Regions from separate parts of the Homo sapiens genome. Here all the other regions are linked to region 2. Evidence: promoter capture Hi-C in 16 types of primary human blood cells and fetal thymus (Javierre and others, 2016). All regions are on one chromosome and are shown on one strand. The core of a region is centred on a gene start or on the middle of the fragment in contact, and the rest is flanking DNA. Distances in the headings are between cores, read along the strand shown. Region 1 holds the start of KLK1 (kallikrein 1). Region 2 holds the start of C19orf81 (chromosome 19 open reading frame 81). Region 3 holds the start of KLK2 (kallikrein related peptidase 2).

What was found. Contacts are between HindIII fragments. The CHiCAGO score rates a contact against its expected background, and 5 or more counts as called.
Region 1: the fragment with the promoter of KLK1 here is called in contact with the fragment with the promoter of C19orf81 in region 2 in 11 of 17 cell types (neutrophils, erythroblasts, activated CD4 T cells and 8 more); the score reaches 10.6 in neutrophils.
Region 3: the fragment with the promoter of KLK2 here is called in contact with the fragment with the promoter of C19orf81 in region 2 in 16 of 17 cell types (activated CD4 T cells, neutrophils, erythroblasts and 13 more); the score reaches 15.7 in activated CD4 T cells.

Annotation. Positions count from the first base shown.
Region 1 is chr19:50,822,444-50,825,143 of GRCh38, forward strand. It overlaps KLK1 (kallikrein 1), which reads right to left and starts at 1,344. Exons shown (of 5, transcript NM_002257.4): 1 at 1,260-1,344. The coding sequence starts at 1,305. The HindIII fragment of the contact is 16,614 bases long and covers 1-2,700 here.
Region 2 is chr19:50,648,036-50,650,735 of GRCh38, forward strand. C19orf81 (chromosome 19 open reading frame 81) reads left to right here and starts at 1,410. Exons shown (of 5, transcript NM_001195076.2): 1 at 1,410-1,476. The coding sequence starts at 1,410. It also overlaps a transcript of SYT3 not described here. RefSeq lists an enhancer at 294-343. The HindIII fragment of the contact is 10,880 bases long and covers 1-2,700 here.
Region 3 is chr19:50,872,113-50,874,812 of GRCh38, forward strand. It overlaps KLK2 (kallikrein related peptidase 2), which reads left to right and starts at 1,327. Exons shown (of 5, transcript NM_005551.5): 1 at 1,327-1,407; 2 at 2,609-2,700. The coding sequence starts at 1,362. RefSeq lists promoters at 1-1,352, 727-1,352, 999-1,352, an enhancer at 1,151-1,165 and a cis regulatory region at 1,151-1,165. The HindIII fragment of the contact is 10,018 bases long and covers 1-2,700 here.

The DNA of each region.
Region 1 (2,700 bases), core at 94-2,593, 170 kb after region 2:
TACATTGGGGTTGGAAGGGGCCAGCTTGGCTGGGACAGTTAGATTTCAGGGCTTCCTGGTTAAAGGGTAAAAGAAAGGGCTATGGTTAAGGCTAGAGGTGGGCTTCCGAGAGGTTTTGGGGTCCTTCCTGTGAACCAGGAATGGCAATCTGAGGGGAGGTTGGGGCCCTGAGAACACAGTTGCGGTCAGGACTGGGACGGGGCTCAGGAGGAGGGAGGCGTGAGTGGCAGTCCTTCTCGGACAGGGTGAAGGATGGGATCTTCGTTTCTCATGGGGATGGGGTTCATGGTCTGAGGGTACTGGAAGGATATGGGGTCCTCTTGGAGGCAATCCTAGGAAGAGGATTGGAGAAGTGGTGAGAACAGGCGCCAAGCAGCTGTGGGAATGCAATGCAGGACCCACTTGACGTGAGGTTGTAGAATCACATACTGACTTGGGGGAGGCCAGGGCAGAAGCGCTGGCTGAGAAGGCATTCAGGATCCTTGGGGTGGGGTTCCAGAAAACCAGAGCTGTGTAGGAACAATTCAGGCAGAGAAGGGCTGGGGCCTGGGGCGGGATGGAACTTCCCCAAGGAAAGGAGCATGTGGTGGGAGGGTGTGGTGTTTTTCCTGGGAGAGCTGGGGGTGCTGGGTGGGAAGGGACATTTGCAGACCCCCCCCCATACCAGATGGGGGATCCCACATGCCAGTTTGGGAAGCAGGGTTTTCTGGTGAAATTTGGGGGACCCTGGAAGGACTGGGGAGACCAGATGTCAGGGTCTGGAGGACACAGTTGAGAGCGGACAGCTGGATGGAAAAAGTCACTGGAGTGTGGTGGGATTTGTAGACTCAGGAGCCAAATAGGTGGCCGCAGGGAACTAGGGGGCAGGAGGGGATGATCAGAGTCCTGTGGGGTGGGGGAAGCCCATGGGAGGGTTGGGGTCCTCCAGAGAGAGACAGAGATGGCCCAGAATCTGCCCCTTTGGTAAAGCGGTGGGACAGGGCGTTGGCTAGGGAAGAGGAGAAAGTACTGAGGCTTCCTGGGAGGAGCAGGAATCTGGTGTGGGAGTGAGCACTATGACAACATGGAGGAGCGGGGGTGGAAGTTTAGGGTGGGGCCGCGCAAGATAGATAAGAGCCGGGGCACCCCGGACTAGGATAGACTGTGGGCCAGAGGGATGAGGGTGGGGTGTTGGAGGGGAAGGTCTTATCGGGGGGGGATGTGAGGCCAGCAAGAGAATCAGGGCCCGTTCCCCCTCCCACATCCCCCCACTGTCTCACCAGTCCCCCCCAGGGACAGGGCGAGGCACAGAACCAGGAACCACATGGTGACAGAGGTGTCCAGGGGCCAGCAGGTGGAGGAACTGGGGAACCTCCCTGGGGAGGCTTTTAAAAGCCCTTATCCCCTCAGAGCCCCACCCCTGCCCTGCTGGCACCCAGATGTTGGCCAAGGCCCTTCCCCTGTTGCCTGGGGGCTGGACAATTGCCCCCCCCCCCTCCGATCCCCAGAGCTGTAGACGGGGAGGGAGAACCAGCACCTGTTCTGCAGGCCCTGGATCACGCTGGACGCATTCCTGGGGTTGAAGCCAGGTGGGGCAGGGCCTGTGGCTCTGGGGCTTTGCTCTGGGGAGCAGCCAGTGAGGCAAGGGGGGACTGAGGGGAAGCAGAAACAGGAAGACGGAGGAATCAGTGACCCCTGGTACAAAGCCCCATATACCTCAGTCTCAATTAAGGCCCTGCACCCCCAGACCTGGTGCCCTCAAACACCAGCAGTTAGGGCTCTGATTCCCTGCACCACTCGGAGCCAAGATACTAGCATCTCAGCTGCCAGTTCCCCCTGAAATATAAGCCTTGGCCTTCAGAATGCCCTGGTTCTTGCACTCCCAGACCCAGGACCTAGGTCCCCAAAGCTACTGTTCCTTTCATAATAAAATTTTGGGGTACACATCACCACATTCCTAGTGCCTCCAGATCCAGGAATGTGAAGTTTCAGGGGTCTCCCAGGGTAAGTTCTTTAGCATTACAAAATCCAGTGTCCCTCCCAAACAATGCTGGGGTCTCAATGAGCCTCCCACTTCTTGCTCCCAGTTATGGGTGCTCAACGTCCTGTCCTCCAAAGTCCCAGAGATCTGGACAACCTTCCCTCCCAGGTCAAGATCAGGCTAACCACAGATTCCAATGACCCTTCCCCCCCACCACCAGTACAATATTTAGGTCTCACGAGCCAGGTTCATGTACTTCAACATTCAGCGACCTTGAACATCACATTTTGTGGTCTCTGAAGATAATTAGGAACTAGATTCCTGCAGCCTCAATGGTAAACCCATAGGCTTCCAACAGGTTGTCTTGGCTTTTTGGTAAAATCAAAGCAGCTCAGAGTTCCAGCCTCTGCTGTATATCAGGGACCTGGCTAAGGAAAGGACAGTATTTGCCTTTTTGCCATGGCTACCAGGAAGCCCAGAACTAAATCTTTTTTTTTTTTTTTTTTTTTCTGAGATGGAGTCTTGCTCTGTCACCAGGCTGGAGTGCAGTGGCGCGATCTCGGCTCACTGCAACTCCTGCCTCCTAAGTTCAAGCGATCCTCCCACATCACCCTCCCAAGTAGCTAGGATTACAGTCGTGTGCCACCACGCCCGGCTAAATTTTTTTAGTATTTTTAGTAGAGATGGGGTTTCACCATGTTGGCCAGGCTGGTCTTGCACTCCTGACCTCAAGTGAGCCG
Region 2 (2,700 bases), core at 160-2,659:
ATTGGATGAGGGCTTCAGGCATTGCTGGATCCAGGTGTTCCAATCATCTCCAGGAATCCAACTGTCTGTATCTTTGGGCTATGCTTCCCTCGTGTTGTCTTTGCTCTCAGGCAAGTTATCTCCCTGCATGGTGATGTGGTAGCACCGAGAGCTCCAACCCTGGCTCTGACCAGCCCCAAAACCACAGGGGAAAAACCCTGTTTTCTAACAGGTCCAGCAAAAGTCCAAAGGTTGACTTTGTAGCCTAGATTGATTCTTAAGCTCGCCACTGAACAAATCACTGAGGAAATCAAGGTGCCACCACCTAGAACGAATACTTAGTAAGCAGGAACAACAGACAGTCCAGAGACCATCTGGATGTGGAGAAAGAGGAAGAGAAAGAGATACAAGTAACAGAGACAAAGACTGCAAGGACAGACAAAACAAATAAGCGAAGGTCCAGCTTCCTCTCCCACAATTCCTGCAGAGAGCTCTGCAGACCCAGAGAAAGGGATGCTGAACAGGCACCTACACGGCTAGACCCCTTCTCTCTAGCACGAGAGGCCCCGTGAGACCCCAGACCCAGAAGTCCAGGCCCCCATCCTCTCCTCCCTCAGACCCAGGAGTCCAGACCCCAGGCCCTCCTCCCTCAGACCCAGGAATCCAGGCCCCCACCCCTCCCCCTCCCTCTGGAGGCACCATGGCAACCAGGCCCCCTGCCCACCATCCCCTCCCCACTAGAGAACCCACTTTCGTTGGAATCTCGCCTGTTTCTAACCAGTTCCTGGCTGGGGCAGGGATGAGCAGAGGGCAAGTGGGAACAGAAAGGGGATGACAGAGGGGAGGGGGCCTCAAGGGGGCAGTGGAGGCAGCTAGGAGAGGATAGAGATGGGGCAAGGAGACTGGTGAGAGGTGGGAAGACAGAGAGAGGGTGACGGGGTTAGGGAGAGGCAGAAAACGATGAAGACAAGGAGGGACGGGGGCCTGGGGAGATGCTGGGGAAACTGATGGAGACTGAAGAGATGGAGCCCAGGAGAGAAGGAGGGAGGAGGAGGGCAGAGAAATCAAGCAAAAGAGTGGTGGAGACGTGGGGACAGAGGGGAGGAGGCAGGGGGGCAGAGAGATGGGGAGAGAATGAGGAAGGGAGGTGGAGAGAGAGGGGTGGGGAAAGGGACTCTAGGAGACAGAGAGAGATAGGAGGAAAAACAGGGAAATGGGAAAGAAGGGATTGGGGCACACAGGGAGTCCCTGAGGTCAGGGGAACCCAGATCTCCACATGGTCTCAGCCTTCCAGTTCCTCTGTAATTCTACCCCGGGGCTTCAAAGAGGAGGTAGAGGAGGCAGCGGTGGGGAGAAGGAGCTGGGGTGGGTGGCCCAGGCAGAGCCTCTCTTGCCACCTTCCTGAGACATCCCTCACCCACCTTCCCAGGATGCAGCCAGAGGTGGAGCCCGTGTGCTTCCCTGCCATGGGCAGCCCCACCATGCACAGGAAGGCAGGTACTGAGCTGTGTCTTTGGGGGAAGGGGTGGACTTCCTCCATCCAGGCAGTGCGTAGTAGCCCGGGCTCACAGTGTGGCCTTAAGCGAGTCACTGGCACTCCAAAGTGAAAGCCATCCCTAGCATTCCTGGATTCACCAGATTCCTGGAGAGCGGCCCCCTTGGACCTCAAACTACATTTCCCATGAGCCTCTGCAGTTCCTTGGCCAATGCCCTGGACTCAGAACTACATTTCCCATGAGCCTCTGGGGCCTAAGCAACACCTCTGAGGCCATTCTTCTCCTAGGTAACCTCACTGTCTTGTCTCCCACCCTGAGCTCAGCATCTTCCCCCAAAGCTGCTCTCCTCCTTCCTGGTTTCCATTTTCAAATGGCCCCACCGCCAACCCAGTCACTGGTGCCATCCTTCCACCTCCCACAATTCCCTCCCACAGCCCATCAGGCCCTATCTTCCTGCCCTCTGACTCTCCCTTCCCCATTCCTTCCTCTCTGTCCCCGCAGCCCTGTCCCAGGTCTCATCCTCTTCCATGTGGACCCTCTCCTCACCTCCTCCCTGGTCCCCAGTTTCTCTCCTCCTACCTATCCCTCCATGGCTCCAGAGAGGTCTCTCTGACTTCCTGCAGTGATCCTGGCTGTCCCTTGCTCATAACACTTCCTAGCTTCCTGTCACCTCTAGGACAGAGACCCAAAGCTCCAGCCTGGCTTTTGAGGCCCTGTGTGGTCTGACCCCTGCTGACAACTTCAGGCTCCTAGCCCAGCACTTCCTGCTAGCACTCTGTGCTGTAGCACAGCTCATGCAGTTACACTCATTCAACATTTATGGAGTAGTATCTCAGTGAGGATGCATGTAACTGCAGGTAATAGAAAACCAAACTCAGGACTGGGTGTGGTGGCTCACGCCTATAATCCCAGCACTTTGGAGGCCGAGGTGAGTGGATCACCTGAGGTCAGGAGTTCAAGGCCAGCCAGCCTGGCCAACATGGTGAAACCCCATCTCTAAAAATACAAAAATTAGCCAGGTGTGGTGCCGGGTGCCTGTAATCCCAGTTACTAGGGAGGCTGAGGCAGGAGAATCGCTTGAACCCAGGAGGCAGAGGCTGCAGCGAGCCAAGATTGTGCCACTGCACTCCAGCCTGGGTGATGGAGGGAGACTCTGTCTCAAAAAACAAAACAAACAAACAAACAAACAAAAACACCCAAAACCAAAACTCACTGCAGCCTTGAG
Region 3 (2,700 bases), core at 77-2,576, 220 kb after region 2:
GTGCTTGCCACCACACCTGGCTAATTAAATTTTTTTTTTTTTTTTGTAGAGAAAGGGTCTCACTTTGTTGCCCTGGCTGATCTTGAACTTCTGACTTCAAGTGATTCTTCAGCCTTGGACTCCCAAAGCACTGGGATTGCTGGCATGAGCCACTCACCGTGCCTGGCTTGCAGCTTAATCTTGGAGTGTATAAACCTGGCTCCTGATAGCTAGACATTTCAGTGAGAAGGAGGCATTGGATTTTGCATGAGGACAATTCTGACCTAGGAGGGCAGGTCAACAGGAATCCCCGCTGTACCTGTACGTTGTACAGGCATGGAGAATGAGGAGTGAGGAGCCACCGGAACCCCATATTGTTTAGTGGACATTGGATTTTGAAATAATAGGGAACTTGGTCTGGGAGAGTCATATTTCTGGATTGGACAATATGTGGTATCACAAGGTTTTATGATGAGGGAGAAATGTATGTGGGGAACCATTTTCTGAGTGTGGAAGTGCAAGAATCAGAGAGTACTGAATGCCAACGCTTCTATTTCAGGAACATGGTAAGTTGGAGGTCCAGCTTCTGGGCTCAGACGGGTATAGGGACCAGGAAGTCTCACAATCCGATCATTCTGATATTTCAGGGCATATTAGGTTTGGGGTGCAAAGGAAGTACTTGGGACTTAGGCACATGAGACTTTGTATTGAAAATCAATGATTGGGGCTGGCCGTGGTGGCTCACGCCTGTAATCTCATCACTTTGGGAGACCGAAGTGGGAGGATGGCTTGAGCCCAGGAGTTGGAGACCAGCCTAGGCAACATAGCCAGACCCTCTCTCTACAAAAAAATTAAAAATTAGCTGGATGTGGTGGTGCATGCTTGTGGTCTCAGCTATCCTGGAGGCTGAGACAGGAGAATCGGTTGAGTCTGGGAGTTCAAGGCTACAGGGAGCTGCGATCACGCCGCTGCACTCCAGCCTGGGAAACAGAGTGAGACTGTCTCAGAATTTTTTTAAAAAAGAATCAGTGATCATCCCAACCCCTGTTGCTGTTCATCCTGAGCCTGCCTTCTCTGGCTTTGTTCCCTAGATCACATCTCCATGATCCATAGGCCCTGCCCAATCTGACCTCACACCGTGGGAATGCCTCCAGACTGATCTAGTATGTGTGGAACAGCAAGTGCTGGCTCTCCCTCCCCTTCCACAGCTCTGGGTGTGGGAGGGGGTTGTCCAGCCTCCAGCAGCATGGGGAGGGCCTTGGTCAGCATCTAGGTGCCAACAGGGCAAGGGCGGGGTCCTGGAGAATGAAGGCTTTATAGGGCTCCTCAGGGAGGCCCCCCAGCCCCAAACTCACCACCTGGCCGTGGACACCTGTGTCAGCATGTGGGACCTGGTTCTCTCCATCGCCTTGTCTGTGGGGTGCACTGGTGAGATTGGGGGGATAAAGGAAGGGGGGCGGGTTCTGACTCTTATGCTGAAGCCCTTTTCCTCCCACCCAGTGCCCCAGCCTCGTCCCTTCAGCCCACAGTTCAGCCCAGACAATGTGCCCCTGACTCTTCCACATTGCAATAGTCCTCATGCCCACACTAGGTCCCCGCTCCCTCCCACTTACCTCAGACCTTTCTCTCCATTGCCCAGCCAAATCCCTGCTCCCAGCTGCTTTACTAAAGAGCAAGTTCCTGGGCATCTCTGTGTTTCTCTTTATGGGGTTCAAAACCTTTCAAGGACCTCTCTCCATGCCACTGGTTCCTTGGACCCTATCACTGGGCTGCCTCCTGAGCCCCTCAGTCCTACCACAGTCTACTGACTTTTCCTATTCAGCTGTGAGCATTCAACCCTGTCCCCTGGACCTTGACACCTGGCTCCCCAACCCTGTCCCAGGAAACCCAGATTCCACCAGACACTTCCTTCTTCCCCCCGAGGCTATCTGGCCTGAGACAACAAATGCTGCCTCCCACCCTGAGTCTGGCACTGGGACTTTCAGAACTCCTCCTTCCCTGACTCTTTGCCCCAGACCCGTCATTCAATGGCTAGCTTTTTCCATGGGAAAAACACGAGCACCCCCAACCACAACGGCCAGTTCTCTGATTCCCTAAATCCGCACCCTTTTCAAAACCTCAAAAACAAAACAAAACAAAACAAAGCAAGAAACAACTCAGGCAGAACTGTTTGCTTAACCTTGGACATGGTAAACCATCCAAAACCTTCCTCTCCCAGCAACTAAACCTCTCCACTGGGCACTTATCCTTGGTTTCTGGAACCTCTTATTCTCTTAGAACCCACAGCTGCCACCACAGTGTCCCTTCTCCCAGTGTAAGACCCCAAATCACTCCAAATGACCCAACCCCCAACCCGATGCCTGCTTCAGATGTTTCCCATGTCCCCTACTCTGATCTCTGGGGTCAGCTCCGTTCTCAGAGCATGAAGCCTCCCGACCTGGTCCAGCCACCAACCCGCTAACGCAGGGAATAGCTACAGAATTGCCAGCCCTCCCAGGACCCCTTGCTTGTGTCCTGGACTCCCAGTCCTGGTCCTCTGCCCCCATGTCTCTTCAAACCCACAGCTCAGCTCCCTCCCCTATCCAATTCTTTTGGGTCTGATCCCCCTGACCCAGCACCCCCTCCGCAGGTGCCGTGCCCCTCATCCAGTCTCGGATTGTGGGAGGCTGGGAGTGTGAGAAGCATTCCCAACCCTGGCAGGTGGCTGTGTACAGTCATGGA